Regions from separate parts of the Homo sapiens genome. Here region 1 is linked to region 2. The links are contacts of gene promoters, found by promoter capture Hi-C in human tissues and cell types (Jung and others, 2019). All regions are on one chromosome and are shown on one strand. Each heading gives the region's core, a stretch centred on a gene start or on the middle of the fragment in contact. The rest is flanking DNA. Distances are from core to core; before and after follow the strand shown. Region 1 overlaps KDM2B (lysine demethylase 2B). Region 2 holds the start of SETD1B (SET domain containing 1B, histone lysine methyltransferase).

What was found. The method cuts DNA at HindIII sites, captures the fragments that hold promoters and counts their contacts. A contact is called where the count stands out against the background at its distance.
Region 1: a contact is called between a fragment that was not itself captured here and the fragment with the promoter of SETD1B in region 2, in 1 of the 25 tissues and cell types used here (dorsolateral prefrontal cortex).

The regions. Positions count from the first base shown.
Region 1 is chr12:121,517,095-121,521,114 of GRCh38, reverse strand. It overlaps KDM2B (lysine demethylase 2B), which reads left to right. Exons shown (of 23, transcript NM_032590.5): 9 at 15-130. Among named protein-coding and RNA genes, the nearest start is that of KDM2B-DT, 61 kb to the left of the region's middle. RefSeq lists an enhancer at 1,972-2,545. The HindIII fragment of the contact is 5,809 bases long and covers 1-4,020 here.
Region 2 is chr12:121,801,960-121,805,258 of GRCh38, reverse strand. SETD1B (SET domain containing 1B, histone lysine methyltransferase) reads right to left here and starts at 1,250. Exons shown (of 17, transcript NM_001353345.2): 1 at 1,026-1,250; 2 at 348-535; 3 at 43-141. The coding sequence starts at 521. It overlaps LINC01089 (long intergenic non-protein coding RNA 1089), which reads left to right and starts at 2,313. Exons shown (of 4, transcript NR_152740.1): 1 at 2,313-2,628. RefSeq lists silencers at 956-1,015, 1,056-1,185, 1,456-1,705. The HindIII fragment of the contact is 28,947 bases long and covers 1-3,299 here.

The DNA of each region.
Region 1 (4,020 bases), core at 1,055-3,554, 290 kb after region 2:
CCTTCCCACCCCAGGTTGGATCCATGCCGTCTACACCCCTGTAGACTCTTTGGTGTTCGGCGGAAACATCCTGCACAGCTTTAACGTGCCCATGCAGCTGCGGATCTACGAGATCGAGGACAGGACGCGGGTAAGGAGGTTCCCTTCTGTCCTCGCGTGCGCGCCTGGCCCCTGAGCTCTGCCGGTGCTCGGTGTGTGGGACAGGTCATACTGAAGTCCTCCACAGTTCCCCTCTCCCTCCCGATTCCTCTCTCAAGCTGGCTTCAGTCCTGGTTCTGTGGCGGGGGAGGGGGGGCAGGGGAATGCCTGTAGGAGCCACACCCGGAGGCCCTGGAGTTTCTGTTCACCTCCAGGTTGGGGGCAGCCAAAACCCCCTTGTGGAAGAGGAAGTGTCTCTGAGAAAGCACCGTGAGATTTCAGGGACCTGCCTCTTCCTCCTCACGTGGAGAAAGTGGTGTGAGGGATTAGGGGGATTTGGTCGCTGTTGTTTGGAGGATGGGTGTGGACCTTGGAAGGGCCTGTCCTGGTCTGAGGTCAGGTCTTGGCTATATGTTCTCCCAGGGACCCCAGATCTGACTGGGGAGGAAGCCTGAGGAAGCCAGTGCCTGAGTCCCCCTGGGTACTGTCTCTGAGGTAGTCTCCATGTCTGCTGAGGACGTCTCTAGTTTCCTGGGGCCGAGGCTTTTCTCTGCCCTTGACAGGGACGGTGCTAGTTTCCCAGACGTCAAGTTTCCCTCACTCACCCCATGTCCTACGAACATGGGCGGAGGCTTAGGTAACTGATGTGTGTCCTTCGCTCCACAAGTGTCCCCTGAAAAGGACAAGTGGCCTGAACTTGCCATGGCCTTTCTCGTGCTAGGACTTGATCACGTGTCCCTAGGCACATAAGACAGGTCCCAAACTGGGTCAAAACTGAAGACTTGGGGCCGGGCGCGGTGGCTCTTGCCTGTAATCCCAGCACTTTGGGAGGCCGAGGTGGGTGGATCACTTGAGGTCAGGAGTTCGAGACCAGCCAGGCCAACATGATGAAACCCTGTCTTTACCAAAAATACAAAAAAGCTGGGCGTGGTGGTGTACGCCTGTAGTCCCAGCTACTTGAGAGGCTGTGGTGGGAGGGTCGTTTGAGCCCGGGAGGCGGAGGTTGCAGTGAACCGAGATCACGCCACTGCACTCCATCCTGGGCGACAGAGCCGGACCTGTCTCATACTAAAAAACAAAGAAACAAACAAAACCCAGAGACTTGGGGTAAAAAAGTCCCATTTCTTGTTCTACTTGTTCCTGTTTTTTCAACACAGCTATTCAAATATTCATTTTCTTTTAAATTGAGATATAATTCATATACCCTAAAATTTACCATTCAAAGTATACAATTCAGTGGTTTTAGTATCTTTATAAGATTGTGTCATGATCACCACTAATTCCAGAACATTTTCATCACCCCAAAAAGAAACCTTGTACCCACAAGCAGTCACTTCCTGTGTCTCCCCACCTTTCCCCTGGCTAGCCCTAATCTATTTTCTATCTCTGTGGATTTGCCTATTCTGGACATTTGATGTAAATGGAGTCATTCAACATGTGGCCTTTTGTGTCTGGTTTCTTTCATGTAGCATAATGATTTCCAGGTTCATCCACATTGTAGCATGTGCCAGAGCTTCATTCCTTTTCATGGCTGAATAATATTCCATTCTGTAGCCAGACCACACCATTTCTTCTTGGGATTTGCTTCTGAGATGGCTTTTTGCCCCAGTGAGGTGTTGCTCTGCATAGATCTAAGGAGAGGTCTCACAAGGGCACCTGCTCTGTACCAAGCCCCTGTCTCTCCTGGTCTTGTTTTCAGGCCTTGGTTTGCACAAAATCACATACATGAGCAAAGTATTAGCTGCTGCCTTTGTATCTGAACATTGAACAGTCCCGGCATTGTGGGCCCATGTCTGGGGGTTTCCTGGAGACCACCTGGAGTTGAGTTCAGTGGTCAGATGTTGTGAGGCATGTGTACCTCTGCAGATTGACACGTGACGCCTAGATCTGGAGAGACCTGGGTCTGGGCTGGGGCTCCATGGGAGACCATCGTTTTGTGGACTTTTTCCCCTCACCTCTCTGTGGCCCACCATCCCCATCCCACCTGGGGAAGGCCAGCCCCCACCCTGGTCTGGAGGAGCCGCCCCATGCCATTCAGGAGAAAGGCACTGTTTGGATACAAGCGGTCACCTCACAGTCTGGGTCAATGCTGTCTGGGGCTCCGGCCAACTGTTCTTTGGCCTGTCCTGGAGTACAGGCCAGTTTGTGCACGAGCAGACGTGTGGAATAGAGATGGAGAAATCTAGTGGAAGTCAGGCCCACGACTTTCCAGGCAATTCCTGAAAGCCGGAGTCAGGCTGGGATTTCTAAAGGCTGTGGCTACTTGCTGGACAACCACCCCGTCCCCCTGGGAATTCAATTGTAAACTCAGCGGATTTGGGCCCCATGGTTCCCTTAGGAGCCCAGGTCCCTTCCCCCACCCATGACGACTGGCAGGGTGCTGGCCGGACCCCTGAGCATCACACTGAGCTTACGTGGAATATCACGTCCTCGTTGAGAATGGCAGGTCCCCTCCCCCACCGGGGCCTACTGTCCCTTCCCCTGAGTGGGCACCCCATCTGGTTTCACCGAAGCAGGCTGGCAGCGGGGGCTTGGGGGCAGACTGGGCTGGGAGCAGCGGCAGGTTGTTTAATCTGCCTTGATTTCTGGTCTTGAGAGAGGGACTTGGCTACGAGGCCCAATTGTTTATGCCTTAGGAGCCAAGGCAGACAAAAGGCACTGGGGAGAGAATTCTGGAACCAGATAAGATGCCAGGGCTCTTTGTTAGCTCACTACAGCTTCATTCTTTACAGCCCTGAGAGCTTTCTTAAGAAGGTTATGGCCATTTAAAAATACTGTTTTATAGGCTGGGCATGGTGACTCACGCCTGTAATCCCAGCACTTTGGGAGGCCAAGGCGGGCGGATGATCTGAGGTCAGGGGTTCGAGACCAGCCTGACCAACATGGTGAAACCCTGTCTCTACTAAAAATACAAAAATTAGCCGAGCATGGTGGTGTGTGCCTGTAATCCCAGCTACTCAGGAGGCTGAGGCAGGAGAATTGCTTGAACCCGGGAGGCAAAGGTTGCAGTGAGCTGAGATCGCACCACTGCACTCCAGCCTGGGCAACAAGAGCGAAACTCCATCCCCCCCCTCAAAAAAAGTGTTTTAAGAGTCCTAAAACATGGCTTTGCCTGGAAACCAAATGCAGGAGGTGGGACAGAGGGAACCATCGGTCAGTCTCCAAGCTCCATGGTGTGGCTTTGTCTTAGAAAAAGAATTTGCCTGGCCAGGCGCCGGTGGCTGACGCCTATAATCCCAGCACTTTGGGAGGCCAAGGCAGGCGGATGATCTGAGGTCAGGAGTTCGAGACCAGCCTGGCCAACATGGTGAAACCCCATCTCTACTAAAAAAATACAAAAATTAGCCAGGCATGGTGGTTCATGCCTGTAGTCCCAGCTAATCGGGAGGTTGAGGCAGGAGGATTGCTTGAACCCAGTAGGCAGAGGTTACAGTGTGCTTAGATTGAGCCACTGCACTCCAGCCTGGGCGACAGAGCGAGACTCCATCTCAAAAAAAAAAAAAAGAAAAGAAAAAGAATTTGCCTTTGTGGCCCAAGGTGGGGACCCCTATCTAAACTAGGGAACCCCAGGGTTCCCTAGGAAGCTGTGTCTTACCTTCACCATTTAAATTTTTCTGGCGAGATGATAGGTGACCCCATCCTGCAATGTCACTGCCCATGAGGTGGCACGAACATATACAGGTGTTTGGGGAATGGTGGATTTCCATTCCCCAACCCTTGTAGATGAAATCTCCCCTTCCCCTCATCCTGAAGCTATGAAGAGTGATGGAAGAGTGACAGCAACGAGTGGATATGTTGTGCATTTGATACTTAAGACAACATCTCGATCATCACTACATTCTTTTAACTTCAGTTAGGTTGATAGGGAATAGGTATGGTCCA
Region 2 (3,299 bases), core at 1-2,500:
GAGGTGGGGGAGGGACGGCGGGGCAGTGGGGAGGGGTCCTACCTTGAATTTGGGCACCGACAGCTCCAGCTCCTTGTTTTTGGTCCAGATCCCGACGACCCGGGGATCTTCGACAATTTCCACCGGGCGGTTGCTGGACATCTGTGGGGAGAAATTGGGGGGCCGGGATGAGAGAACTGGTCCCCCTCCCCATGGGCAGACCCCTTTCTCGAGGCACTTGTCAAACTCCAGGGCTGGGGCCCCGTCTGACAGTTGGCCGGGGGATCGGGCGGGGGGTCCCTGGCCGCTAGGCGCGTCTCCCCGGACACGACGCGGGGCACGGCTGGGGGGGCGCGCCGGCTACTCACCGCCAGGCTGAAATGCTGCCCATCGTAGCGGTACAGTTTATGATGCCCCTTTTTCAGAGCCGGGTCAATCATCAACTTGTAACTTCTCCAATGGTGGTTCCTCCTCTCGCCCGAAGGGCCGGGCTGCGGCGGGGGCTGCTGGTGGTGGTGGTGGGGGGGGTGACTGTTCTCCATGCCGTTAACCCAACCTGAAAACCAGCAAGTTGTTGTCGTCTCCGCCGCGGCGGCGGCGGCGGCCGCTTCTACACACACGCGAAAGAATCCAATCGGCAGGCCCCCACCCCCTCCCACCTTGCCAGCGCGCCCCGAAAGGAGCTGTCTCGCTGGCTCCCCCCAAAACAAGAATGGAGCGAGAGAATAACCCTTCCGGGAGAATTACGCGCCCGCCCGCTCGGCCACCGTCTCGGGGCGGCAGCGAGGGGCTCCCGGGGGTCCCCTGGGCGGGCTGGCGGGGCCCGGGGCGCCCGGAGGACGCGGACTCCGGCCCATGGTGCCCGCCCGGCCGCCCGGCGTGGCGCTCACCCGCTAGCTCGGCCCGGCTCTGGCGCGAGGCTGGCGGCAGGGCCTGGCGGCGCCGCCGCCCGCCCGCCCGCTCGCCCGCTCGGGCCAGGGCCGGGGCCGGGGGCTTGGGCCGCCCGGCTGCCGGCCGCGGCCTCTCCCTCCCCGAGCCGCGCTTACATCCCCGCCGGGCGCCGGCCTCCCTGCGCCGCCAGCCAGTACATGGTGTCCCCCGAGGGAGCCGAGGCCGGGGCGGCCGGACCGGGGGCCAGGAAGGGGGGGCGCCGCCGCCGCGGCTGCCGGGCCCGGAGCTGCTGCCGCTGCCGCCGCCGCTGCTGCTGCTGCTGCCCGGGAGGCGGCTGGCGGCGGAGGCTCGGCTCCCAGTAGCCGCACATCCCACAATACACCGCTAAGGAGCCCGACCCGAGCGCTCACCCTCCTCCTCTTCCTCCTCCTCCTCCTCTTCCTCCTCCCCTCTCCTTCCTCGCCGCTTCCCCAGGCACTCTCCCGGCGGCGGCAGCTGCGCCGCCAAAGCCCCGGGCCCCAGCGGCCCCCCACCCCTCACTCGCGCGCTCCCACACTGCCTCCCCCTCCCCGGGGGAAGGCCTTTTAATTTATTTATTTTTCTGGGACTGGGGTGGGGGTCTTGGCTGGCGGGGGAGGGGGTCTCCCCGGGCTCTACCTCCCGCGGCCGGGACTACCCTCAGAGCCGCGACCGCCGCGGCGTGCGTCCCGGGCCTGCAAAACTGTTTCCAAACTGCCCGGGCCGGAGGCGGGCGCGCGGGGCCCGGGGAGATGGCTGGGGTCTGGGGGGCCGAGGGTGTGTGTGGACGCTGGGAGCCGCGGGGGGAGGCCGGCGTCGACTCAGAGGAGTTGCAATCGAGGTATCTGCGCTCCGGCTTCCTCCTGCGGCCCGCGACCCCCTCCCCGGAGCTGAGCTGGGGAAGGGAGACCAGGGTTCACCACGTTAGCATTCGCATTCCTGGGAGGATGCAGCCCTCGCCTGGACCTGGGCGATAGACGCCTTCTTCTGTTTTTATTTTTGGAGGGGAGCGCCCTGTAATTGTCCTGAACACATGCTTCCCCCCCTTCCTCCAGCCACCCGCGGAGGAGAGAGTCCCCCTTTTTTGCATTTATCTTTTCCTTCCCCTTTCTTTATTAAAGGTCCGGGAGTGGCGGCGGCCAATCAGCGCGCGGCTTCCATTTTGTGAGTTCAACTCCGAGGCTCCCGGGCTTCGCGAGGACGCGTTTGCAGCCCCCTCTGCCGCTCCTCTCTGGCGGCCGAGGCGCAGGAGCCGCCTCGCCGGGGCTCGGAGCTGGTGTAGCTCATATTGGGGCTCTTTTCGGGGTTTGTAATTTGGCCGTGGGTAGGTAATTGGCTGGAGCAGGGCGGCAGGGCGCGGCAGCCAATCAGCGCGCGGCTTCTATAGGGCTTGAGTTATTAGACGCTGATCTCAAAACATCCTTCATCAGACACGAAGGAGAGGCCAACAGATGAGGGAAGCCATTTTTCTGCAATGGAATTAAATGGCCAAGTGGGTTTTTCCTTTGTTGCAAATGGGGAATGTTTTTCCTTTGACTCTACCATCCAGTTCAGGACGTCTCAGTGTGTTTAACATTTGTCAACAGGCCCAAGGACTCACAGTTGGAAGACTGGAGAAGACTTTTTAAAAAGATCTGGATTTTTCCTTATGACTTGGAATCCATCTTTGTCTTGTATAACTAGGTCATAGCACACCATTCATGTCAGCAGTTAACAGTTTTGAATTCCAAAAAAACCTAAGTAAATGACATATTTTTTTTCCTCTTTTTGTTCTATGGGTGGGTGGGGGGAGCTTGGAGCTGTCTTAATCTGTATTCTCTTGACTGAACAATAAATTTTTAAATATATCTAGTTTCCTCTATTAAACACTTAAACCTGGCCATCTTATTAACTCCTTCTCTCTTTTTAACAAGGTAATGTTTTAAATGTATATAGCTTTAGGACTAGCGAAATGGCAGCAACAAAAAATTGTGAGCAGTTGTTACTCTTTTAGTTTTTAAAAAACCTTTTACATTGTAAGTACCCAATCCATTCTGTCCTGACGCAGTACAGTTTTGATGTTAATGTTGCTGAGATGTCCTTAATTTTCCGAACCTTCATCTGCATGTATGTCTTTGTCTCTCTTGTCTAATATAAGCCAGTTAAGATGCTTGAGACGATCTTGCTTTATAAAGCTAAGGTTCTAGCTTTATGCTTTTGAAAATGTTTACAGCACTAAATGCTAGTCAGCTTTCTTCCCCGTAGCTTGTACACTTTCTTTGAAAATCGATCTATTTGAAGAAAAACAGCCCTGTTTTTCTCGTCTTTGGTGTTGGGGGTTGGGGGGAGCTGGTGGGTGAGGGAAAGGAAGACCTTTTCTTTGTGTAGAGAGACTAAAGCCGTCACAGGAAACTAGATTAAAACTGGAAAAC